3 separate regions of the Homo sapiens genome follow, and all the other regions are linked to region 1. Evidence: promoter capture Hi-C in 16 types of primary human blood cells and fetal thymus (Javierre and others, 2016). All regions are on one chromosome and are shown on one strand. The core of a region is centred on a gene start or on the middle of the fragment in contact, and the rest is flanking DNA. Distances in the headings are between cores, read along the strand shown. Region 1 holds the start of HDDC2 (HD domain containing 2). Region 2 overlaps NCOA7 (nuclear receptor coactivator 7). Region 3 overlaps NCOA7 (nuclear receptor coactivator 7).

Region 1 (4,161 bases), core at 486-2,985:
TACACACCATTAACCAGATCCCATGAGAACTCACTCACTATCACAAGAACTGCAAGGGGGAAGTCTGCCACCATGATCCAATCACCTCCCACCAGGCCCCTCCTCCAACTTTGAGGATTACAGTTTGACATGATATTTGGGTGGGGTCACAGAGCCAAACTATATCACTCCTTAAACCTCAAATGCCTCCTCCTCTATTCACAAACATTCTAGCCTCCTTTCTTCCCAGAGGCCTAGCAAGATTGCACTCCACAGGCCCCCTTTGAAGTTAGACGTGGCAGTGTTACTTATTTCACCAATGATACGTAGACAAAAGGTCATATATCACTTCCAGAGACAGGCTTTAAGAGCCAGAGTGCCACTTTTCTTTTTTCCAATTTTGGCAAAAGAGAGCAAAGAAAGCCTCCTAGCTCCCTGAGTAAGGTTAGAGCAAGCAGCATCCTCTAGCTGATCTACAATAGACACTTAGCATGAGAGAGAAATAAACCTTTGATGTGTTAAACTGCTGAGATACAGGAAATAAGGAGGTTGTTTGTTATTATAACATCCCAGCCTATACTTTGCTTCCTAATTTGGTGAGAAAATAGAAGCAATCAGAAGAGAACTTCTACAACCTCCCATGACCACATGTGCGACTGATTAGTCACCCTATACTCTGTCCTCCTCCAATATTTGAATGAATTCTCCATATTCCTATCTAAAGCCCATCTTTTATCTTGTACACCAGATGGGAATATTTTTCCTTACTCAAGGCCGACATTCAAATATTTCTCTTCTTTGTCTCTTACATAATCAATGTTTCCCTTTCTACTAGATCCCCTTCATCAGTAAACATACATAATATCTCCTGTTTTGAAACAATCTCTCCACTAGTTAACAGCACCCCAACCCCATCTCCAATGTGCTGTAATACTTGCTCCTATTCTCTTCGGAATTATCTCACTAGGTTCTGCTTGGCCCACTACACTGAAAACTGCTTTTGTCAGGGTAACCAATAATATTGAATTTACTAAGTCTGGAAGTCAAACCTTGGTCCTCACATTGACTTGGTTGACCATATTCCTTCCTTCTTGAAATATTTTTGTACATGGCTTCCAGGACACAACTATCCTACCTACTAATCCTCTTCCTACCTCACTGGCTGTTCCCTCTTGATCTCACAAAGCCTAAATGTTGGGGTTCAGGTCTTGGGTGTCTTTTCTTCTTCATTCACACCCTCTTGCCAGGTGACCTCATCCAGTTTCATGGTTTTACACTGTCAACTGAAGAATAACGAGGTTCATAAATTTAGAAAGGAGAGCTTTATTTTTCATAAAGAGTACTGAGTGTCAAGTATGTGCCAAGCAAGGTGTCTGCCACTGACGGAGCAATGCCCAAGCAGCGGACACCAAGGCCAAGAAGGCGAAGGCTGGACAGAAGGTCCTGAGAAAACCGTGAGAATATGGAGGAGGGGGAGGAGGAATAAGAACAGGAGGAGGAGGGGGAGGAGGAATAAGAACAGGAGGAGGAGGAAGAGGAGGGGGAGAGAGGAAGAGGGGCAGGAGGAAGAGGAAGAGGAGAAAGCGGAAGTGGGGGAGGAGGAGGAGGAGTTGGAAGGGGAGGAGGAAGAGGGGGAGCAGGAAGAGGGGCAGAAGGAAGAAGAAGAGGGGGAGGAGAAAGAGATAGAAGAGTAAGAGGAGGGGGAAGAAAGACAAGGGGAAGGGGAGGAGGAGGAGGACGGGGAGGAGCTTCGCCGCGGCCTGCTCCGCCCAGCCGGGGTCGGTGGCCGCATGGCTTCGGTCTCCTCTGCGACCTTCTCGGGCCACGGGGCTCGGTCCCTACTGCAGTTCCTGCGGCTGGTAGGGCAGCTCAAGGTGAGCGGGCACCAGGCCGGGAGGCCGCGGCCGAGCGGGCGGGACTGTGGGGCGGCGGAGCTTCCGGCCTCCCCGCTCGGCCGGCGGTCTTTGCCCTTCCTGCGCCGCGTCCGCCACGCCGAATTCCGGAAAGGCCCCAGTCCTGCGGATGCGGCCGCGCGTTGCCGACGGTGGACGGAGGAAGCAGCCGGCGGGACAGGCTGGCCAGCTGGGGCGGCCCGGAGTCTGAGCCTAGAGCCTGGCGCCGCGAGGTCCGCACTGCAGCCGCGCCAGTTCCCGGAGAGCAGCCGGCCTGGCCCTGCCTGCACTGAGCTTTTCCGGGGCTCACGACCCCAGAACTCGTGTGTGTGTGTGTGTGTGTGTGTGCTCACGACCCCAGAACTCGTGTGTGTGTGTGTGTGTGTGTAAAGCGCGGCTGCTTCTGAGCACGGGTGGGAAGAACAGAATCTGTCGGCTCCTCAGATTTTAAGTGGAGCTTTTTATGTCTGTCTCACAGTTACTTCCAGAAACAAGACTTTTCTCCCGGCCACCCCCCAAACGGGATTTAATGTAATACACACGAGTTTCATCATGTGCGTCTTCCCCGTCTCTCTCCCAAGTTCAAAGTAAATTATCCGTTTCATGCCACTCTGACTACTATTTATAACATTCCTTAGAGATGTAGAATTCTGAGGAAGAAATGCAGTTTCACAAGATGAAGTTATGATGTGAATAAAAGGAAGAGTCACGGCTGGTAGCATCAAGCAATTAGAAGTGCCCTTATCCCTTGTGCCTCAGAATTTGGAAGCCTATCACTCGTTCACGTTCAGACCCTTCAATACAGTGTTTTCTGCTTGTGTAGGATTATTTGAAGGCAAAAAGCCGCAACTCTTGTTCGGAAAAATGCAGTTTTGTTTTTGTTTAAAGGACTTGCATATGTTCCATAATTATACATCAGTAACAGAATAATTTGACGAATGGACTTTGTGACTTATCTCTCTCTGTCTTCTACCCCTTTCATTCTCTGAGCTCTCTAGTTCATTTGATTCCAGATGTCTATCATTTTAGCTAGTTTAGCAAAACATTTTGTAATAGGTTCTGAAATTATGACCCGGCTTCTGTGTGTTATATCCTGGACATCTCTTGAAGAGCATAGCAGATAGTTAATATTTGTTCTTTAAAACTTCTTTTTCTTCTTCATATTTATCAGAGAGTCCCACGAACTGGCTGGGTATACAGAAATGTCCAGAGGCCGGAGAGCGTTTCAGATCACATGTACCGGATGGCAGTTATGGCTATGGTGATCAAAGATGACCGTCTTAACAAAGACCGGTAAGCTGAGCTGGACTTTGATGCTCGTGAGAGATTCTGGTCTATGGGTGTGCACCCGTTTTTACTACTGAGACCCATGTCAAATCCTTGTAGGTTAGTTTATAGGTCAAGAAAAATTATTTGAAGCAAACCATACAAATTTAGGATGTGGGTTATGTTGCCTCAGTTGTTGTAAACTGCAATCTGGGGTTTCTGTTGGCAAGTGATAGAGCCTGCCTAGGGTATCAGGGGAAACTTAAGTGTGATATTGGGGCCTTGAAGGTGAGTGTGTTATGTCTAAAATTCTAGCATTGTATTAGTACACTGTGTGCTCTTTCCTAGTGCCTTTTATGGATAGTAGTATCCATTCGTGAGGCTTCCTTTTGGAGTTGTGTGTGCAAGACATAGCTGAGAAAGAGGTATCTTCTCCCCCTTCATTTAATCGACAAGTGTTAAAATGCTTTTTGAGCACAGAACAAAAGTTTACTAGCATGTAAGAGAGTAAATAAATCCCAAGTGAATTACGCAGGCCCAAAATAGCTTCTGTAAGAAGTGAAATGTAAGTTATGGTCGAAAATGTTAAGTATTGTAAGAGCAGGGGAGATCACCTGTTCTTGGTTGATCTTAATGGAGGAGGTGCAATCTGAGTTGAGCTCAAAAGGGTTAACGTAGCCAGAGAGGTAGGAGAAGTCACTGCATGCAGAGAGAAGGGCAGATAAACCAAAGCCCTGAGTGTAGGAAAGTAAAGGAGTATTTTGCAAATGAGAAATTAATCAACTTGACTGCAGCAAAGAGTTCATTTGGGAAGCCTGAGGAGTCCTCTGTTACTCAGCAGATGAAGTGGAACTGAGGAGGTTTTTGGCAAATGGTACAAGGTGAAAATGAAGTCCAATAGAGATGCAGTTTGGAGTAGTCTGGGATTTGAACTGGACCAGAAAGAGACTAGAGGCAGGGAAATCTCAGAGGACACTGTTGGGCCTTGTACTGCCTTGGTAGTGTGGGGAGCCTAAAACATACT
Region 2 (4,161 bases), core at 797-3,296, 580 kb before region 1:
CGTTGACTTAGTAGCTACTCACTTAACTGCTCCATATAAAGTCACTGACCTTGAACCCTGATTCTGGGTTTCATGGCTTAGGATCTGATGCTTCTAATCATAGACAGCCCTCTACTCCCAAAGGAGATGCAAGAGGAAGCTTCCACTATTATTGTGGGTATACGGCAGTTGCTCCATCTTATAATTTAAAAATGTATAGAAAAGTAAATCTTATCTAAAAAGCTCTTATGTATAGTACTTACATTTCTTAAGTAAATATTTCATAACAATATCGCTTTACTTTATAGCAATGGTGCAGCTCGTTTATCAGCTGAAACATATTGTCCTGGGATGCAGTCAATTATTTTTCCTTAATAACAGATGCTTTACTTCCCAGATCGGAATTACATGAAAATATTGATTAAACATGTTCTCCCAAGTGTAAAATAAATGATCAAGAAATACATTTAAAAAAAATGACTAGAGAGCAGCAAACCACCATGGCATGCACCTATGTAACAAACCTGCACATCCTGCACATGTACCCTTGAACTTAAAATAAAAGTTGAAAATAAATAAAAATAGTAATACTTTCAAATATGTGTAAGAAAAAAATATGACTGGAAATATCTTGAGTAAACCCATCCACTTACCACTACTACTAGTAGTACTATTACTGGGTTGAAATGCAGAGATATAAAAACCTTTTAAAGAATAACATTTCAATTTCAGAAATAATTGTATTTTCTAAAAAGGTCAGATCATCTTCAGATAAAACTTTATCTGCTATTTTGGCTTTGACATAAATGGTTATGACAATAAAGCAACAAAGTACCAGGAAGTTCTGAAGTTCCAAAAGACTGTCTTCCCAAAGTGATTTTATAAATCATCTGCATGAAAGGTTCATGCTTTTTCCAATAGAAAATAAAAGCCTATGTAATTGGTTGGCTCCAACAAATGCTTTAAAAAGCCTTCATAATTTATAATTCATTTCAATTTAATAAGCATTCATTGAGCCCCTAAGTGCTATATTCTGAAATACAACTGTGAAAGAATCTCTGTTCTGCAGGAACTTGCAAACACAAAATGTTCTGCCTAACATCAGCATCCCAGGAGATGTCAAAAATGCTTCCATCCTAGAGTCAAACAAGTTAGTGAAATGTAGCATAATCTCCCTATTGGAACTCAAAACTGAATTTGGCATATTAAAGCCTGTAAGAAGTCCTGCAACAAAGAAACCCAACTTTCCACATACTTGATTAATAAGCAAAACTTTCTTCACCTTCTCTACCTAGCTTGACCCCCACAAAAATACCTTCAACTGCACTCTAATTAGCTTTCTAGATTACCTTGTCTACCCCTTTCTTCTTTTACCTAATCCAAACTGTCCATTCCCCACTTGAGATTAATTTCACCATCTGCTTTTTCTGCAGTGCAGTTGCCAAGCATACATAATGCTGTCAACTGGCTAGTTTGTTAATTAATGTTTTCTAGACTTAGCCTGGCACCTAATGATGATCAACAATCCTTTCAGTTGTTACCTTCTTACTCACTGTGGCAGCCGGAGCTACAAAACGTCCTGCACGTGTGTGCACGCGCACATACACACACTCTCACACAAATACCAAACTTGAAGGTGAGGATGGAGGAGTTTTACACATACCCACTTTTAAAAACTATTGCACGTTGCCACTGGGTAATTTGTACTTATTGTTTTATCATTAAACTTTTGGTAATAATGATGTTTTAAGTAATTTTTAACTTTTAAACAACTTATGAAGTTCTGAAGACAATACAAAGTTTATTTCACACTGACTCTCACACATTCTTGTTCATTAGACTAAAAATCCTTTATATACCTGTATCCAAGGCAGGAATCAATGTGCAACCCTGAAATAATTTCAACCCTGAAATAATTTCAAATTAGAAGCTGATTCTTAACTCTGCTCTTTTCCTGTAATCATGGCATTATCCCTTGTAATCGAGATCATTAAACATAATCTCACATTGAGAGAAGTTTTTATATAAAGATGTACTGTCTATTATTAAATAGAATACTTAATATCCTAGGCTGAAGATGTGCAATGGTATTACTCCATTAGGAGCCCTATTTCAGTAGGGAATGCCCCTATTTGTTTGGCCACCCATTTAGACACTTCTGGCAGCAAAATTTGGAAACTACTTCAGGGCCCATGTTCTGGTGATATCTTAGTGGCTTGAGGTTGGGGAAGGGCTGAGTGGACCAGATTCTAATGGCTGTAGGAGTCCAGGGGAATCTACTTGCATAAACCTCCAGGGATTTCCCTAGTAACTTCCTTTTTTTTTTTTTTTTTTCATATAAGCCCCAAGGGCTAGTTTCCCTCTTTACTGTTAGGACCTACTGCTTTGCCTCTTCCCATCACTGAAGGTTTTTAAAGTTTTTTACTGCTGGCTTTTATAGAGAAACAGACACAGTAGAGCGAAAGGACAGTAAAAATCAGATTATCTGTATCAGTTAATCAATTTCCTGAGCTTTCTTAATGCTTTCTCTTTTTTCCTGGGGAGCTTCCCTCTCTTTTTTACAATAAATCCAGCATTATAAGGCAAAAGTAATCAGGACTGAAGTTATATTCATCTGTATTTCAGGGAAAAAGCAAACTGGTATTACTCCCTCTTCACAGCATGAGAAGGTGGCTACCACTACACTGTAGACCCAAACCCCTCTCCATGCAGGACTGAGGGAGGACATGAATCAGGGAGACTGCTTTTCCTAGAAGTTAAATGAAGACAAACATAACTCTCCTTAATTAAACCCAGAAGAAAACATTATTCTCTTATTGATAATTGGATAAACTTCTTTCAGAGAACTGCCTTTCTTCCTTCATAATTTCATTAAGAACGTGCACTGCTTTTTAGAAAAATAAGCCCAACAAATACTATTTTTACATGACGGCTTCTTTGTTTTTCTCCTTTAATCTTTATATGTTCAACTTTTCCCATCATTGATTTTATTCTTTTCATTTCTTCTCATTTTTCTCATTTTCTTCAGTGCACAAGTCTTCCATCTTCAAAATCACCTCTACACAATCCCTCAATCATGCAAATGCCCTCATTTTTAAGCTACATTTAGCTCTCTCAACACCCCTTTTTTCCTGGTAAACAAATAAATGTCTTACGATGGCAAGGCATCTTTGATCTTCATGTGAGAAATGTCATTGTAGAGCGCAATGGAAACAACCTCTTCCATGGGGCAGATGAGACCATACTCCTCACACCCATTTTCAATAACCAGAGGATCAGATTTATGAGGGTCAAACATGATGTTGTTAGGAGTCACTATCATAACACCGCCAACCACACCCTGCAGGAGAAAGCAACAGGACAGAATCACTTCAGGCAGAAATGCTTTCAGCAACTACCACAGAGCTTTAATTAACTCAGATGGCCACTCCATGGACTTTGTGAACCACAGTATCCTATGTGACAATTACATCCCCTTTGTGAGGACCAGAAAAACAGGCTGAAGAAATGCAATGCTAGGTGGTGAGGCAGAGAAAACAGATGTGGCTCACTGAGGCAACCAGCTGAGCCTGGTTCTATCACAGCTGCTGCAACAGCACAGTTGTGGAGTGATCCTGGTTCTCACATGCACGTCTCAGATTTCCTAGATTTTCTAGTTCTCTGTCTGCAAAATGGGAGGGGCTGCCCAAGTGCTTACCCGATCGAGAATACAGGGCTTTACAATTCACTCTGCAAGTCTTCACCATGTGTCTGACAAGTGCATGGTTCTGTGCTAAGGGAGCAGCTGTTTCAGAGTTACAGTGCCAAAGAATAGTCCCAATATTTTTCTTTAAAATATTTAGAAAGCCCATATCCAACAAAAGTCAAAGTAAATAGGAACATGAAACTTTTGTAGCCAGAGTGAATATAGCTGAACTATGGAGATTAAAGCAAAAAGTCGTAGCTTGGTGAAGTCTTTGAAGTCTGAAGCTTGCTCAAATTATAAAAGAGACCTTAATGGCCATACGGATATTATCTACCATGAACAGCAGGATACAGATAACTTCCTTTAGGCAAATAATTTATTTTGGTACTTTTAATGAGTCTAGTGATTATCTCAGTAAAAAGTTTTGTAGATTCAGCAATCTCATTACTGGGTATATATCCAAAGAAAATGAAATCATATCTCAAACAGGTATCTGC
Region 3 (4,161 bases), core at 1,016-3,515, 560 kb before region 1:
AAACAGCCATTATTGTATTTTTAAAAAGAACAAAAAAATTCCAACTGTTAGAAAACTAAGAATAGAGTGAACTTCTTTAATGATGAATATTTATTCTTGATATTCACTAGAAATATGCTTCTGAAAAAGCAATGCAACGCTAAAGAGTATATACGAAAAGGAATTTCTTCATAGGAATGAAAACTGAATGACTTCACGATGTCACTTCCAGGTCTATAGAAGCGGGCTTATTACCGAAACACCGCACTGGTGAGGCCCCACCCCCAGCTTTCTGGAAGGAAGATTCCAGGTGAGCAGAGGGAAAAATAGCCCCAGGCACTGCATGAGCTCCACCCCCTTTCTTTGGTTCCAGTTGTGCCAGGAAAGGCCTAAATTGCCTAACAGCAATTCTAGCACAGTGTTTAAGGTTTCTGGGCACGGTATCCACCAATTTAGTGGTATGCACTAAATTACAACATAGAGGCGAACCTAATGTGAGGCTAAACCACAAGTATTTCAGGTCATAAAGAAAAAAGCCTTGTAGTGGAGATAAAAGCAGCAACACTACAAACATAATGGAAACTCCAGGATAAAGAGGGAATCCCTGCCATTCATCAGAGGCTACCTTGCACAGCACCACAAGGCAATCTCTGTGCTTGAATGCACTACAGGTACCCACATGCTCAACGTCTCTTGAGAAATTAAGCACTATTCTAACCTCTCCTAAAGTACACCTGTATAAACTGAGATGAGCTCTTATATCAGAAACCAAAAGGAAAAGAAGTACTTTTTTTAAAGTAAAACATTACCAATATCAATTTATGGTTTATACCCAACTTGGTTCTGAAATCTAGTCAAAGCAACAGATGAAAAGTTTTAAATACTGAGAAGAAATGAAAATGTGGTCATTAGCAGATAACATAATTGTCTGTGTAAAGAACCAATATTATCATGAAAATGTCAAAAATTCATAAAGTTGTTCACTAAGGTGGCCAGATATCATAATTTTTAATTTTTGTAACAGAAGCGTAATTGGAAAAGTCCCAGGTAGAGTGGTATCAAACTATATGACATCTAGGAATAAATATAACAAGACAATGACAAGATATACATAAATAAAATTAAAATGCTTAACTGAAGTGTCTAAATGGATATAATACTCCTAAGTAGGAAATCTCATCTTTAAATAAATATTTCACTTTTTTCAAATTAATGTTTAAATGCAATTTAAATAAAAAATAATTTTTTATGGCAAAGGAACAGTTTCCAAATTGAAAACCATGCTTATCTAGAAGCACAAATACATAAGACTATCCAAAATTATTTTTCAAAGAGAAGTGAGGGTAAGCACACTCTAATGATGTTGAAACACATGATTATAAAGCCACAGCAATTAAAACATTGCAGTGACATCACCAAAAAACAGAAATTTGGTGAAAATAAAAGCACCATTATAAATGAGAGGAGGCTGGATTTCCCCATAAATATCATGTAACTTAATGTTGGAGGGAAGGTTTTGGCATCAGATGGACTGTGAATGAGAGTCCTGGTCTACCATCTGCTCACTAGGTAACCTTGGGGAAGTAACTTAAAGACAGTCTCCCAGTGCACAAAATGGAGATACTGCTGGATTCCCAAAGAGTTACCCTAAGAATTTGATAAGGTGATTCAGAAAAAGCACTTTGCAATGTGCACAGTAAGGGTTCAAGGGACTTTAAGGATTATAATTAAATGAAGCTAGGTGAATAATGGCTAAGATTTGGAGAAAAATTTGGACCACTCTCAAATCAATGCAGAGAGATTCAAGACTGAATAGCAAAAAATAAAGTTATATATCTTTTTTTTTTCTTTTTTCTGAGACGGAATTTCGCTCTTGTTGTCCAGGCTGGAGTGCAATGGCGTGATCTCGGCTCATCAAAAACTCCACCTCACGGGTTCAAGCGATTCTCCTGCCTCAGCCTCCTGAACAGCTGGGATTACAGGCATGTGCCACCATGCCCAGCTAATTTTGTATTCTTAGTAGAGACGGGGTTTCTCCATGTTGGTCACGCTGGTCTCAAACTCCTGACCTCAGGTGATCCGCCCGCCTCAGCCTCCCAAAGTGCTGGGATTACAGGTGTGAGACACTGTGCCCGGCCTAAAGTTATATGTCTTTGAAGAAAATATAGCACTTATATCTGCCTAAAGAATGTCTTCTTGGCCAGATGCAGTGGCTCACACCTGTAATCCCAGAACACTGGAAGGCTGAGGTGGGAGGACTGCTTGAGGACAGGAGTTCAAGACATGCCTGAGTAAGATGGGCAGACCCTGTGTCTACAAAAGAAAAGAAAGAAAGAAAGAAAGAAAATATAAAAATTAGCCAGGCGTGGTGCTACATGCCTATAGTCCCCGCTACTTGGGAGGCTGAGGTGGGAGCATCACTTGAGCCCAGGAGTTTAAGGCTACAGTGAGCTATGATTGCACTACTACACTCCAGCCTGGACAACAGAGAGAGAGAGACCCTGTCTTTAAAAAACATAAAATAAATAAACTTTAAAAAGAAATAACACCTTCTCTATTGGCGATGCACACATCTCAAATTATTGACCTGACTCTATAAAAAGCACAATTAAAACATTCAGTATTGTTAGGTAGCACTTTAAGAGAAACCTAAAGTATAAGCTGTTATAATTAAATTAAAAAAAAAAAGATGTGTCAGGGAAGAATGAACCCTATACTCAATATGAACTCTGTTTTAACCTGTGGCACAAAGGAAAATGTCATGCAGTACATGTTACCTACCTTCCTTCCTTCAAGCAAGTCACAGGTAACATAGTTCTCGACTAAAATGAGTCATACTGTGCTAAAATCTAAAATGCAAGGCTTAAAGCACAGGGAAGTTACCAATCTTATAAAACGTTTTGCTCTAGAATCTACTACTGCACTCAGCATGGAGAAGGTCCTCCTCGTTTGTGGAAATAAGTCAGGCTTTGGTGCCAAAGAGGGCAGGGTATGAATCCTGGCTGCATGCTAGCCAACAGTGGATCCCTGGCCAGTTACTCAGCTTCTCAGTTTTTACGTTTGTAAAATAGGCTACATTTTTTGTAGCAGATCATAAGTCCTAAATTAAATAGTGAAATAAAGGATCTAACACAAAGGAGACATTCATGGAAAATAGTTCTTTCTGCTCTTCCTCGTGTCTGATGTTGCTTCTCCTCCTCTTCTTACCCTCTTTCCCACCCTCCAAAATACTTTATTGAAAACAGCTTTTTCTTTTCATAAATGGATCAAGGACAATAATTGTGCATATGAACACTTCAGAAGAAAACAGAAGAAATATGAAAGCCAATTTCACGTGAATCAAAACTATATACAGCCATTGTCTTAGTATATTCAGGCTGCTATAACAAAATACCATAAACTGGTGGCTTAGAAACAACAGTAATTTATCTCCCAGAGTTCTGGACACTAGGAAGTCCGAGATCAAGACACTGGCAAACTCGGCGTATTTTTCCCTCATCCTGGCTCGTAGATAGCGCATTCTCAACCAGGCAGCTCTCTGAAGTCTCTTTGCTAAGAACACTAATCCCAATCATGAGGTCGCCACCCATATGGCCTCATTACTTCCTAAAGGTCCCACCTCCTGATACTATCACGTTGGGAAGTAGGATTTCAACATGTAAATTTGGGGGTGGGTGGGGGGACACAAATATTCAGATCATAGTAGTGATTTTAAAACACAAATAAATTTAAAAAAAAAATAAAGGTCATCCATTTTCCCTCCAATCAGAGAGACTGATGTTTGCATTCTGGTGAATACACTTCTAGAAATTCTCTATACCTCTTTTTATATGCATGTAGGTGAATTATTTTTTTAAACAAAAATGGAATCATAATCAGTAACTATTGTCAACCGACTTTTTTACTGTAGTATTTGGTGAAAATTTCCCATATCATTAACTATTTTTCTACTTCATTTTAAAATGGCACATAGTATTCCATTTTATATCATTTATGTTATTTTTCATATTCCTGCTACTTTAAACAATGCAATGATAGTTACTGCAGTTAAATCTTCTAATATGCTCATGACTGTTTGCTTAGGATGAATTTCTAAAAACAGAATTGTTGGGTCAAAGAGTATGCAAAAAGGGTCTTGATAAAAACAGCCAAACTGCCCCCCCCAAAAAAACCTGACCACAT

Evidence for each region. Contacts are between HindIII fragments. The CHiCAGO score rates a contact against its expected background, and 5 or more counts as called.
Region 2: a fragment that was not itself captured here is called in contact with the fragment with the promoter of HDDC2 in region 1 in 5 of 17 cell types (naive CD8 T cells, total CD4 T cells, total B cells and 2 more); the score reaches 7.6 in naive CD8 T cells.
Region 3: a fragment that was not itself captured here is called in contact with the fragment with the promoter of HDDC2 in region 1 in 3 of 17 cell types (naive B cells, total B cells and naive CD8 T cells); the score reaches 7.8 in naive B cells.

The regions. Positions count from the first base shown.
Region 1 is chr6:125,299,541-125,303,701 of GRCh38, reverse strand. HDDC2 (HD domain containing 2) reads left to right here and starts at 1,735. Exons shown (of 6, transcript NM_016063.3): 1 at 1,735-1,853; 2 at 3,043-3,164. The coding sequence starts at 1,770. RefSeq lists a cis regulatory region at 32-212 and a silencer at 1,706-2,045. The HindIII fragment of the contact is 13,888 bases long and covers 1-4,161 here.
Region 2 is chr6:125,884,317-125,888,477 of GRCh38, reverse strand. NCOA7 (nuclear receptor coactivator 7) reads right to left here. Exons shown (of 16, transcript NM_181782.5): 8 at 3,135-3,319. Among named protein-coding and RNA genes, the nearest start is that of NCOA7-AS1, 68 kb to the right of the region's middle. The HindIII fragment of the contact is 3,809 bases long and covers 142-3,950 here.
Region 3 is chr6:125,864,004-125,868,164 of GRCh38, reverse strand. The region is part of intron 3 of NCOA7 (nuclear receptor coactivator 7); the gene reads right to left. Among named protein-coding and RNA genes, the nearest start is that of NCOA7-AS1, 47 kb to the right of the region's middle. The HindIII fragment of the contact is 4,670 bases long and covers 1-4,161 here.